Linked DNA regions of Homo sapiens: all the other regions are linked to region 1. Evidence: promoter capture Hi-C in human tissues and cell types (Jung and others, 2019). All regions are on one chromosome and are shown on one strand. Each heading gives the region's core, a stretch centred on a gene start or on the middle of the fragment in contact. The rest is flanking DNA. Distances are from core to core; before and after follow the strand shown. Region 1 holds the start of FBXW9 (F-box and WD repeat domain containing 9). Region 2 holds the start of SWSAP1 (SWIM-type zinc finger 7 associated protein 1). Region 3 holds the start of ZNF653 (zinc finger protein 653).

Region 1 (4,234 bases), core at 655-3,154:
AAAGGGAGCAAGGTGATGTTGTCAGGGCCACCCTGGCCCACCCTGCCTGGCCCCCCACAGACCCCGTCTCACCTGGAGCAGCAGCACTGAGTCAACGGAAGCCACGTGGCCTTCGGCCAGGCAGAAGTATTCGACCCAGCGCCCATCCTCTGCCCAGCGGGACAGGTGCTGCTCCAGCGCAATGCAGGCTGCCGGCCAGTCAAAGTTCTTCTCTGTGGGTTACCACGAGTAGGGTGCCCAGTGGGCAGGGACCCTAGCACCCATGCCAGCTGGCCAAGCCCAACCCTGGCTTCCAGGGAGCCCACACTACACCAGACTTGGACAGAACCCCATGGAGATCCCTACTCCCACCCCAAGCCGACCCAGGCTGTGGTCTTGGGACCACCTGCCTGCCCATTTCCCAGGCAGGTCTAGGACTACTCACTCCAATTTCCAGAAATTGGGAACTGGGGTCTCAGAACTACCTCTCCAGGCGCCATCCCCCAACCCAAACTCAGGGCAGAGCAGTCTCAGGATGTTGAGGTCTGACCTCAGGCTCAGCATAGAAGCTGGGACCTCATGACTAACCCTTCCTGCCTCAGCCATCTGAACCAGACCAAGGGGGCTGTTTCTCAAACAGTATCTGGAAACCAGGGAGCCTTGTCAAGATGCAGAATGCAAGCCCCAGATGCAGATTCTGTGATATGGACGGGGTCCAAGCATCTATGTTTATTAAGCTGTTTGGGAGAGTCTGACCTGGGGGTTGGATGGCAACACCTTGAGAATCACTGATCCCGGAGTGATCCTGATTCCTCTCTAAGCAGAATCAAAGCTTCCAGGTTAAGGGTATCAAACACCCAAGCTGTAATACATCTTGGCTTAAGGGCCTGAGGATCCAGCTGTATCAGGATCAACAATATCGATTCAAAGGTCCCAAGCTGTCTTCCCTCAGGAACCAATCAACTCAGGGCCAAGAGCCACTGTCTCACCCCTAACTGGGTCAAGGCTCTAGGGCTCAGGAGTTTTGACATCAACAGGTGCTGTCTCAGCTTCTAAGCTGGACTCAGAACCTGAGGATCCTTGGGCTCACTTTGAGCCCCAGCATAAACTCCAGAGCCTAAGACTTCAAGTCCCTGTGTCAATCCCCAATCAGGGGTCAGTGGCTTAGTACCACAAGACCCCAAGACTGAGGATATTTGGATCCTGAGTCGTCCAGGAACCACAGCCCCATGTTAGGGTTTCACAGCCTCAGGACCCCAAGTGCCTGACTGCCTCGTGGTCCACCCAGAGGTCCTCAGGGGCTTCGGCACCACCAGTAACTACCTTAGCCTCCAGCCTGAGCCAGGACAGCCACGAAGCCTGCACCAGAGGCTGCATCCGGAACACCCCATGTACCTCTTCCCCGCCCCAAGCCTGACCTGGGCGGGCGCCCCCGGCCCCCGGTCCCCGGCCCCCGGCCCCGCGCACCTTCCACCACTGGGTAGGGCGCGCGTACGCGGCGTAGCGCGCGTAGCCTCCAGGTGACATGGTCAGACACGAGGTCGCGGAGCGCGTGGCACACCCGCGACAGGACGTGGAGCACGAGGCGGGCGTCCAGGTAGGAGCAGATCTCGAGCAGCAGCTCCGGGGGAAGGCTCAGAAGGCCCGGCTCACTTACGGCCGAAACCCTGGACGCGGCCCGAGGCTCCGAAGCGCTCGGGGACGCGGCGGGTGTGGATAGCTGCGAGGGGCGCGAGAACGCCAGCCCGGATTTTGGCGGACTGAGAACGCGGGCCACGTAGGCCTTGGCCTGCGCGTCTGGGTCTGTCTCTGACTCTGGGTCCGAGTCATCGTCCCAGGTGCGGGAATCATCGCACCGCCCTAGGGGAAGCTCCATTGCGACCGGGTGGGCGCTGCCGGCCTCGCGTCTTGTCTCCTAGGCAGCACGAGGGCACTTCCGGCGCTGTCTGATGACGTTTATGCGCCCACCGGAAGCGACGAAGTCAGACACTGGCTTAATACAGAACATCGCCCCGCTTACAGGGTCTCTTGCAACTGCGTCGGCCTTAGGCTGGAAAATGCAGGTTCCTGTTTCTGCGCTTTTTAAACTAGCCGATACCGAGAGCCAGCCAACTCTAGCTAAAAACGAAACTCAAGCCAGGCGGGGTGGCGCGCGCCTGTAGTTCCAGATACTCAGGAAGGTGAAGGGGTAGGATCCCTTGAGTCCAGGAGTTCGAGACTGCAGTGAGCCATGGTTGTGCCACTGTACTCCAACCTGCGCAACATAGTGAGACCCTGTCTCTTTAAATTAGACATAAAATAAACACTGCTTTAACGAAGGCATCTGTTATATGTGACACTGAGCTTAGAAACCCAAAGGCCCCTTTCCGAGTTCAAGGAGTAGAGATTGGAACTCTTGCCTCTTTTCCCAGAGCCAGAAATATGCAGTTACACTGCAGAGGCATCAGTTAAGTGACTTTTTTTTTTTTTTTTTTTTTTTTTGAGAAAGGAACTGGGGCCTCAGAACTACCTCTCCAGACCCCATTCCCCAACCCAACCTTGGAGGACAGCAGTTCAGTCCTCCAAGCGGAGTGCTTGGCTCATTGCAACCTCCGCTTTCTGGACTCAAGTGATCCTCCACCTCGGCCCCCCAGGTAGCTGGGACTACAGGCGCGCACCACCACACCCGGCTAATTTTTGTATTCTTTTGTAAAGACAGGGTTTCACTACGTTGTCCAGGCTGGTCTGGAACTCCTGAGCTCAAGCCATCCGCCCCCAACTTGGTCTCCCAAAGTACCAGGATTACAGGCGTGAACCATCGCGCCTGGTGGAAAGCTACCTTTTTCTTTTTTCTGAGACGGAGTCTCACTCTGTCACCCAGGCTGGTGTGCAGTGGCGCGATCTCGGCTGGCTGCAACCTCCGCCTCCCGGGTTCAAGCGATTCTCCTGCCTCAGCCTCTAGAGTAGCTGGGAATACAGGCACGCGCCACCACTCCTGGCTAATTTTTGTATTTTTCAGTAGAGACGGGGTCGCACTATGTTGGCCAGGCTGGTCTCAAACTCCTGACCTCGTGATCCGCCCGCCTCAGCCTCCCGAAGTGATGGGATGACAGGCGTGAGCCACTGCGCCCGGCCTAACATCACACTTACTAAAACAGCATGTTGGCCGGGTGCGGTGGCTCAGGCCTGTAATCCCACCACTTCGAGAGGCAAGGTGGGTTAATCACTTGAGGTCAGGAGTTCAAGACCAGCCTGGCCAACAAGGTGAAACCCCTTCCTACTAAAAATACAAAGAATTGGCCGGGTGTGGTGGCAGGCACCTGTAATCTCAGCTGCTCAGAGGCTGAGGCAGGAGAATCACTTGAGCCTGGGAGGCGGAGGTTGCAGTGAGCCGAGATGGCATCATTGCACTCCAGCTTGGGCAACAAGAGCAAAACTCCGTCTCAAACAAAAAAACTGCAGGTATTTACTGCAAGCCTCTTTTGAGCCAGGCAGCTAACCAATCCACGTAGGTCATCTGCGCAGTCCTTGCTGTTTGCTCTACTTGACACTCTTCTCTCCATGGCTCTGTTCAAACATCGTCTTCTCAGTGTGGCCTTTGCAGGTCACCCTACATAAGATTTCAACCGTTTCCCCCACCATTCTCTCTGCCTTCCTGTTTTTCTCTATAGGACTTAGCACAGTTCCACTTTTTATACTCTATCCTCTCACTAGAATGCAGGACTTATTTGTTGAATATTGGATGTGTGTCAGTATTTTTAAATTTTCCCACGTTGGTCTTTGGGCCACACCAAGGTTGCAGTAAGATTTTATTTTGGCTGGGGGCGGTGGCCCACACCTGTAATCCCAGCACTTTGGGAGGCTAAAGTAGGTGGATTGCTTGAGCCCAGGAGTTCAAGACCAGCCTCAGCAACATAGCGAAAACCCCCTCTACAAAAAATACAAAAATTAGCCAGCATGGTGGCATGCACCTGTAGTCCCAGCTACTTGGGTGGCTGAGGTGGGAGGACTGGTTGAGCCAGGGAGGTTGAGGTTGCACTGAGCCATGATTGCGCCACTGCACTCCAGCCTGGGTGACGGAGCAAGACCCGGTCTCAAAAAAAAGAAAGATTTTATTCTGAAGATTGTGGTTTCCCCCCACAGCTGAAACTACTTCTCATTTGCCTGAGTAATTGTAACTAATATTAATTAAATTACCCTCGGCCTGGGGCTGGGCTGAACCTTCTATGAAAACCTTGACCCAGGGTCAGCTGATGATAAGAGTGCGGCAAGGCCT
Region 2 (4,234 bases), core at 1,034-3,533, 1.3 Mb before region 1:
GAGGCTGAGGCAGGAAAATCACTTGAACCTGGGAGACGGAGGTTGTGATGAGCCAAGATTGCACCATTGCACTCCAGCCTGGGCAACAAGAGCAAAACTCCATCTCAAAAAAAAAAAAAAAAAAAAAAGCCAGAAGGATATCTGGAAGCTGACTGCTGCACACACAAGAACATCAAGTGCAAAGGACTTGTGGTGAGGCTGTATTCAGCATGCTCCCATGTATGTAACTGTGCTGGACTCTGTGATGTGGGTGTCACTACTGAGTATTTGTGCATTTTTGTTTGTTTTTGTTGAGATAGGGTCTCGCTATGTTGCCCAGGCTGGAGTGCAGTGGCACAATCACTGCTCACTGCAGCTTTGACTTCCTTGGGCTCAAGCAATCCTCCTGCCTCAGACTCCCAAGGAGCTGGGACTACAGGTGCACGCCACCACACCTGGCTAAATTTTTTTTTTTTTTTTTGAGACAGAGTCTCGCTCTGTCGCCCAGGCTGGAGTGCAGTGGCGCGATCTCGGCTCACTGCAAGCTCCATCTCCCGGGTTCACGCCATTCTTCTGCCTCAGCCTCCCAAGCAGCTGAGACTACAGGCGCCTGCCACCATGCCTGGCTAATTTTTTTTTCTATTTTTAGTAGAGGCTGGGTTTCACCGTGTTAGCCAGGATGGTCTTGATCTCCTGACCTTGTGATCTGCCCACCTCGGCCTCCCAAAGTGCTGGGATTACAGGCGTGAGCCACCGCGCCCGGCCAACACCTGGCTAATTTTGAAGTATTTTGTAGAGATGGGGGTCTCCCTACATTGCCCAGGCTGGTCTTGAACTCTTGGCCTCAGGCAATCCTCTTGCCTTGGCCTCCCAAAGCACTGGGACTACAGACATAAGCCACCACACCTGGCCTGTATGTGCATTTGGAGTGTTGAAATGTGAGGTGAATCATGCGTTGTATATCTGCTGGGGGATGGGGGCTGAGGTGGCGTGTTTGACAGCGCAGTGTATCGGTGTGCTTCACTGTGTGTGTCTGTGTGTGTAGTGGCAATGTCATAGTTGCGTGTTTTGCAAGAGAAAGGGTGTGGGGGATGAATGTGGGACAGAGTTTGTATGGGATGCTTTGTGTCAGGATAGGGCAAGGTTGGAGCATGTGGATGATGGGGATTCTGAAAGTAGAATATATTCAGAGATGCCATGGTGTGTGTGTGTGTGTGTGTGTGTGTGTAGAGGGGTGTGAGTGAGCCCAGCTGTGTGAGTGGGTGTGTTGGGGGATGTCGTGGAGCTGTTTTCTGGTCCCAGAGGGAGAGAGAAAGCCCAGGAAATCTCACTTTCTCCCTGCCCCTGGGTCTCCAGGCAACGGCACCACTTTGGAGTTACCAGGAGACAAGGTTGCCAGGGCAACACAGGCGTGAGTGGCAGCTCTGGGGCGAAGTCTGGGTGAGAAGATCCAGCCAGGGATCACGATCATTCACTTTGTTCCTCCCTTTCTCCCTGTTTCTCATCAATCCCACCTCCCTTCCTTCATTGTCTTAACGAGCACGTATTTGAGAACCTACAAATGTGCTAGGTGCTATTCTCGGTACTGGAGAACAGAAGTGAACAAGACAATGTCCCTGCTGTATCTCTCCTTCAGTCTTCCAGCTCCTGTCTCTTTATCTCTCCTGCTTCCTTCTTTGTCCTGCGGTCCTGCCTTCCCCCCGTACCACAAAGGCGGCCCCACAGAACCCCTTAGCCAGTGAGGAAGTAAGTTGAGAGGCTTCATCTCACAGACTTTCGGGGATGGCCGTTGATGTTTTGTCCACGAGCCTGTGTCCCCAGACACACACTCCGGCCCATACTCAGGTGCACAGAAAGACAAGCACACAGCTCATCCCCCTCTCCAAAACTCTCAGTTGTCATTGGATGACATCAGCAAAACCACACACAAATACATGCCGATCACAATACTCCTCTGAGATATCATAAGCCCCATTTTACAGCAGGGCAAACTGAGGCTAGGAGCCTTTAAATAATATGTCACTCATTCTGGTCTACTCCTCCAACTTTCAACCCTTATATTTGTCTGATTAGCTGACAATAATAGTATTCGTGCTGGTTCCCCCAGCAGCCTCCCTCAGGGAAGGGTCTTATTTCCCTCGAATGCACCCATTCCTCCGCATAGGTTCTAACCATTTGCCCATTCACCTGAGGAATCGAGTTTTGATGGACAGATTCCTAGACCAATAGAGAAACTAAGTGAACTGTACCGATGCGGCCACGGCTTGGGCGGGACTAAGGCTGGGAACGAGCCACCGATTGGTCAGAGCTACGCGGCGAATGGCGGAGACGCTGAGGCGGGTGCTAACCAGGGGCGGTGCGGCCTGGTCCGGGGAGGAGAACATGCCTGCCGCCGGACCGCCTTTGCTGCTGCTCGGTACACCAGGATCTGGAAAAACAGCGCTGCTATTTGCTGCGGCCCTAGAGGCGGCGGGGGAGGGCCAAGGCCCAGTCCTCTTCCTGACACGAAGGCCTCTTCAAAGCATGCCCCGCGGGACCGGAACGACTCTAGACCCAATGCGACTCCAGGTAACCGTGGGGGTGGGAGCAGAGGCGTTCTAGCCAATGGTGGAGTAGATCCGGGATATTGAGTAACAGGTAGACAAGCCAATGGAGAGGACGGTGGAAGAGCGAGCCAGGGCAGCCACGATGGGGCGGAGTCAGGCAGGCGGAGTGAGGAGTGGCACCACGCGGAGCTTAGTTAAGATTGAAGTGAGAGCCCATCCAATGATGGGCGGTGTTAGCAAGAGGCGGTGCCCAGAGATTGAAGTCCGGCCCATCAAGGGGCGGGGCTAAGCTTGGGTCCATTCTGGACCTGAGTTGGTTCCTGTTAGTGTCAAGGATGGGGTCAGACCGAGAATGCTGGGGGAGGGTTTTCCGTGGAAAAATTGCGCTAGAGATTTGGCCAAAAACAAACAAGCAAAAATGGCTTGCCCTCAACTAATACTCGGCAGTGATGAGTGCTGGAAAAACGGGCGAATATAAGAATATTTAACAGCTCTGAACTGGTTCATCCTGGAACCAAGGAAAGTATGCAAGGAGGCAGGGTTACTTTTAAGGAGTCTGGCTTCCTGTGCTGAATCCGGCCCTTTCCTTCTGTTTCTCCTTCTAGAAGATCCGCTTCCAGTACCCACCCTCAACCCGAGAGCTTTTCCGGCTCCTGTGCTCTGCCCATGAGGCCCCGGGGCCAGCCCCCTCCCTTCTGCTGCTCGACGGCCTAGAAGAGTACCTAGCGGAAGACCCAGAGCCCCAGGAAGCCGCCTACCTCATTGCCTTACTTCTAGACACAGCTGCCCACTTCAGCCACCGGCTTGGGCCTGGCCGGGATTGTGGGCTCATGGTGGCCCTCCAGACCCAGGAGGAAGCAGGTAGTGGGGACGTCCTGCACCTGGCACTGCTCCAGCGGTATTTTCCTGCCCAGTGCTGGCTGCAGCCAGATGCACCAGGTCCAGGAGAGCACGGCCTCCGAGCCTGCCTGGAGCCAGGCGGGCTGGGCCCCAGAACAGAGTGGTGGGTGACTTTCCGATCAGATGGAGAAATGATGATCGCTCCGTGGCCCACCCAGGCTGGTGACCCCAGCTCAGGCAAGGGTTCAAGCTCTGGAGGCCAGCCCTGAGCTTTGGTGGGTGACTACCTCTCTGTGCTTCAGTTTCCCATGGCTGGAATACTTACCTCAGGGACATATGCAGATCCAAAGACCTAAACAATGTAAAGTGCTTTTTCTCTTTTAAAAGTATAGCATTATCTTGTATATATTTTACCCAATCAATATGTTGTTTATAGTTTCATTGCTTTAAACTTTATAAAAAGAGCTTCAGGCCAGGCGTGGTGGCTCACGCCTGTAATCCCAGCACTTTGGGAGGCTGAGGCGGTCAGATCACCAGAGGTCAGGAGTTGGAGACCAGCCTGCCCAACATGATGAAACCCTGTATCAACTAAAAGTACAAAAAAAATTAGCTGGGTGTGGTGGCAGGTGCCTGTAGTCTCAGCTACTCAGGAGGCTTAGGCAGGAGAATTGCTTGAACCCAGGAAGCGGAGGTTGCAGTGAGCCGAGATTGTGCCACTACACTCCAGCCTGGGTGACAAAGCGAGACTCCATCTCAAAAAAAAAAAAAAAAAAAAGTTTGAGACTTCCTTCTTTTTGCACTCAACGTTGTTACTAAGATTCATCTACATTTTTTTAGTTCATTCCTTTTTCCATATTGCATATAATTCC
Region 3 (4,234 bases), core at 1,047-3,546, 1.2 Mb before region 1:
ATGACTTTAATCCCAGCACTTCGGGAGGCTGAGGACGGAGGATCCCTTGAGCCGAGGAGTTCGTGACCAGCCTGGGCAACATGGCGAGACCCCCATCTCCATGAAAAATTAAAAAATTAGCCAGGTGAGGTGGCTCCTCTGTAGTCCCAGCTACTTGGGAGACTGAGGCAGGAGGATCCCTTGAGCCTGGGAGGTTGAGGCTGCTGTGAGCTATGAACATGCCACTGTACTCTGGCCTGGGTGACAAAGTGAGACCCTGTCTCAAGAACAAACAAACAGGGCTGGGCACAATGGCTTACACCTGTAATCCCAGCACTTTGAGAGGCTGAGGCCGGAGAATCACTTGAGCCTAGGAGTTTGAAATCAGCCTGGGCAACACAGGGAAACCTCTGTCTCTACAAAAAATACAAAAATTAGCCAGGTGGAGTGACGTGCACCTGTGGTCCCAACTACTCAGGAGGCGGAGGTAAGAGGATCACTTGAACCCACGAGGTTGAGGCTGCAGTAAGCCGTGATCATGCCACTGCATTCCACTCTGGGCGAGAGAGTGAGACCCTGTCTCAAAAAGAAAAACGAGGGCCGGGCGCGGTGGCTCACGCCTGTAATCCCAGCACTTTGGGAGGCCGAGGCGGGTGGATCACGAGGTCAGGAGATCGAGGCCATCCTGGCTAACAGAGTAAAACCCTGTCTCTACTAAAAATACAAAAAATTAGCCGGGCGTGGTGGCGGGCGGCTGCAGTCCCAGCTACTTGGGAGGCTGAGGCAGGAGAATGGCGTGAACCCGGGAGGCGGAGCTTGCAGTGAACGGAGATCGTGCCACTGCACTCCAGCCTGGGCGACAGAGCAAGACTCTGTCTCAAAAAAAAAGAAAAGAAAAGAAAAACGAACAAAAAAACCCCCCAGACCTTTGAACAAGCCATCCCCTCTGCCCACCAGAATGTCCGCTCCATGAGGCAGGTATCTTTGCGCTCCCAGCATTTCCAGTCCTGCTCTTGAGCATATAAGCCAGCCTGCTGTCCTGGGAAAGGGGTGGGTATAACTTAGCAGGATCTGTTTGATTCTTGACTCTCAGAATCTCCCCCCAGAGAAACATGAGAACATGTGTACCTGAAAACCAGGGCAGAACAAGGATTTCCTTGCGGCACTGCTTGTGATACGGAATAAACGTCATCCTCGTAAAAGTTAATACTTAGGGAACCCACTACCTGCCAGGCACTCTTCTAAGCTCTTTGCCTATTTTAACTCAATCATCACATCAACATATAAGGCAGGAAGGGAAAAACTCCATCCACACTGCTCCTTCTCAAGACTGAGAATTTACAAAGACAGGCCTCTCTGCCCTCCACCTGCCAAGCTAACTAGGGGTTTCCTCTTCATCCGAGTCTCCCTGGGCTGAGTTGCTTCACAGAAATAGGTTTAGGGGAGTGCAGTCCAGGTTGTGAAGGGTCCCCCGGATGTGTTGGATCTAGGGTTGTGGGAATGGGGCCATACGGAGTCCCAGATGGGGCACCAGAACTTCAAGAAGGGCAGGGCTGAGTGCCCCAGGGTGTCCAGAGTCCCAGGCCAGGTGGGGAACTAAGCGGGGGAGGATGAGACCGGTGAGGGGGCGGGGCTGCCCCCCCAGGGCCTGGTTAGTTACAAGGCCTGGAGGTGGGGCCAGTCCCAGGATTGGGCCGCCAGAGTTCTAGCGGGCGGGGCCAAGCGCTCAGAAGGCGGGTCGAGGGGCTGGGTGCACCCTAGGATTGGGCAGTCGGAACGATGGGAGGCGGGGCCACGAGCCAGGCGCGTCCCGGCCAGGCAGTACGAGACCCAGGCCGCCGGCCCGGCTCCTGGGCGGGGTCCGCAGGTGCCGGGGGCTGGCCCTAGAAGCGGAGGGGGCGGGGTAAAGCCCGGCGGGGTCTGGGGGCGTCTCCTCCCTCCCTCCCTCGGGGCCAGGCCCCCTCACCCGTGGCGGCCGCTCCGCTGGCCGCGCTCCAGAGAGATGAGGTAGGCGGCGAGCTTGGCGTCGCTCCAGCCGCTGCGGCGCCGCAGGTCCACCCAGGGCCCGTGCGCCTCGCCCAGGTACACGCGCCGCACGTCGTACTTCTTCCGGGACTCGAGCCGTCGCCGGGCCCGGTCCGACTCCGTGAGTCGCGGCCGGCCCCGCGCCTTTCGGCCCGCTGCGCCCTCCTCGGCTGCTGCCTCCCCGCCCGCGCCCGCCTCAGCCTCCGCCTCCGCCTCGGGCTCTAGCGCCCGCTCCGCCATCCCCCCCACCCTGGTTACCAGCCTCCCCCGTTGTTAGGAGCCAGACCGGAAGTGGCGCGCATCTTCGGCGCCGCCGAGAAATTTCTCACGGTCTCTCGCTGCCCCAGGGCGCCAAAAGGAGACCAAGAATGGAAACTGCGCATGCGCACAACCAACAGCGCTCCCGCCCCTTTTTATTTGAATTCGGAGAACCAGAGGCGCCTGCAGATTCTGGAGGGGTCTCGCCTGCCCATCGCTGGCAGCCCGAGATCCTGGGGAGGGGATGCCATACTGCTAGAGATGAGGGAAGAGAGCCCCAAGCAGGAAAACATTGATTTGCTGTACACTCAAAGGGCATCTCATGCCTTCAGTCCACCGCCTCCTCGGGCCACAGCCCGTGCCCTCGCGCCGGCTCAGACTAGCTCTGGCCCTGCTGCTGTCGCTGCAGGTTGTCGTCTTCTTCCTGGTGGTCCTCGGGCAGGGGCGGCTCCTCCAGCCCTGCAGAGGATGTCTGGAGCTCCCGGGTGGACCCGGCGAGGCGGAAGACCACGGGGATCTGGGCCAGGGTTGGGTTGGTCTCCTGCAGGCCCTGGATCCACTTAGCCATCGTCGCCTGGTCATGAGCACCCGCCATGCACATGGCGAAGACAGGGCCTTCCTCCACTGTTGGAAGACATGCACCCTTAAGGTTTGCACAGTGGGGGCTGCAGCGGCTAACCCATGCCTACACCTTTTTGAGGTATTTTACACTCCCTTCCACTTCCTTTTTTTTTTTTTTTTTTTTTTTGAGACGGAGTCTCGCTGTGTCACCCAGGCTGGAGTGCAGTGGCGAGATCTCGGCTCACTGCAACATCCGCCTCCCAGGTTCAAGTGATTCTCCTGCCTCGGCCTCCCGAGGAGCTGGGATTACAGGTGCACAGCACCACGCCGGGCTAATTTTTAAATTTTTAGTAGAGATGGGGTTTCACCATGTTGGCCAGGCTGGTCTCGAATTCCTGACCTCAAATGATCTACCCGCCTCAGCCTCCCAGAGTGCTGGGATTACAGGCGTGAGCCACTGTGCCCGGCTTCCTTCCACTTTCTTGTGCCTCCAAACCTTTGCACAAGCTAGCCCCGCTGCCTAGGCTGCCCACTCCACACTTCACCCGGGCGATGACTCCTGGTTTTTCTGTATTCTGCCAGGAAGGCCTCCTGACCCCCCACTCAAGGCATGCTCCTCTCCTAAGCTCCCCAAAGTGTAATTTGCCTGTTCCCTTGCTGACTCGAGGGACTAGGTTTGTCCTGGTGACACCCAGTAGCCAGCACAGAGTTGTAGGAGGGAGGGAATGAACAAGGGCCAACAGGGCTGGGTGACCTCAGGTCTGGAGCCCCTGGGGCAAATGAGTGTGTGCGGCCGGAGGACGAGGGTGTAAGTGGACTGCGTCTCAGCCTGGGCCTACCCCTTGACCCCAGAGGCCGCCCCTCATCCTGGGTGGTGTTTGGAATGTTTGGAAGTCCTGCCTGTCCAGGTTTTTGCCTTTTTTTTTTTTTTTTTTGACACAGGGTCTATCATGTAGGCTGGAGTGCAGTGGCTCTATAATAGTTCACTGCAACCTCAACTCCTGGGCTCAAGTGATCCTCCCACCTCAGCCTGTAGGAGGGCTGGGATTACGAGCACACATGTGAGCCACCGCACCTGGCCCAGTTTTTACCTTCATTGATGTCAAACTCGTAGTTGTCCCAGCCACTCCTCACATACTCCAGGTCCAGCTGCATCGGGTAGTAGAGGTTCCACTCCTCCGGCGTCTCTTCCACTTCCTACTCCAAGGTGGGGAGTGCAGGCGGGGTCAGAGGCCAGGGCTCTCTCGGTCTCCCTCCTCCAGCCTCTCCCATGCACCCTCAGGGTAGTGCCAGCCCACTCCCCAGCCCCAACACATGCTTTGCTTTAAGCCCTCACCCTCTCCTCCGGGGGCAGCAAGTCAGCTCTGAGGATGTGGTAATACACACACTTGTTGCGGAGCCACAGGGAGAA

Evidence for each region. Contacts are between HindIII fragments. The study calls those that stand out against the background at their distance.
Region 2: the fragment with the promoter of SWSAP1 here is called in contact with the fragment with the promoter of FBXW9 in region 1 in 1 of the 25 tissues and cell types used here (dorsolateral prefrontal cortex).
Region 3: a contact is called between the fragment with the promoter of ZNF653 here and the fragment with the promoter of FBXW9 in region 1, in 1 of the 25 tissues and cell types used here (spleen).

The regions. Positions count from the first base shown.
Region 1 is chr19:12,694,727-12,698,960 of GRCh38, forward strand. It overlaps FBXW9 (F-box and WD repeat domain containing 9), which reads right to left and starts at 1,905. Exons shown (of 10, transcript NM_032301.3): 1 at 1,447-1,905; 2 at 73-212. The coding sequence starts at 1,855. RefSeq lists enhancers at 1,815-1,864, 2,175-2,234. The HindIII fragment of the contact is 8,232 bases long and covers 1-4,234 here.
Region 2 is chr19:11,372,383-11,376,616 of GRCh38, forward strand. SWSAP1 (SWIM-type zinc finger 7 associated protein 1) reads left to right here and starts at 2,284. Exons shown (of 2, transcript NM_175871.4): 1 at 2,284-2,547; 2 at 3,131-3,787. The coding sequence starts at 2,299. The coding sequence ends at 3,634. RefSeq lists a silencer at 2,114-2,193 and enhancers at 2,294-2,363, 2,584-2,633, 2,864-2,943, 2,964-3,013. The HindIII fragment of the contact is 10,471 bases long and covers 1-4,234 here.
Region 3 is chr19:11,503,543-11,507,776 of GRCh38, forward strand. It overlaps ZNF653 (zinc finger protein 653), which reads right to left and starts at 2,297. Exons shown (of 9, transcript NM_138783.4): 1 at 1,946-2,297. The coding sequence starts at 2,244. ECSIT (ECSIT signaling integrator) reads right to left here. Exons shown (of 8, transcript NM_016581.5): 6 at 4,160-4,234; 7 at 3,915-4,020; 8 at 2,387-2,886. The coding sequence ends at 2,642. RefSeq lists enhancers at 1,393-1,462, 3,915-4,234 and silencers at 1,613-2,282, 2,443-2,492. The HindIII fragment of the contact is 10,042 bases long and covers 1-4,234 here.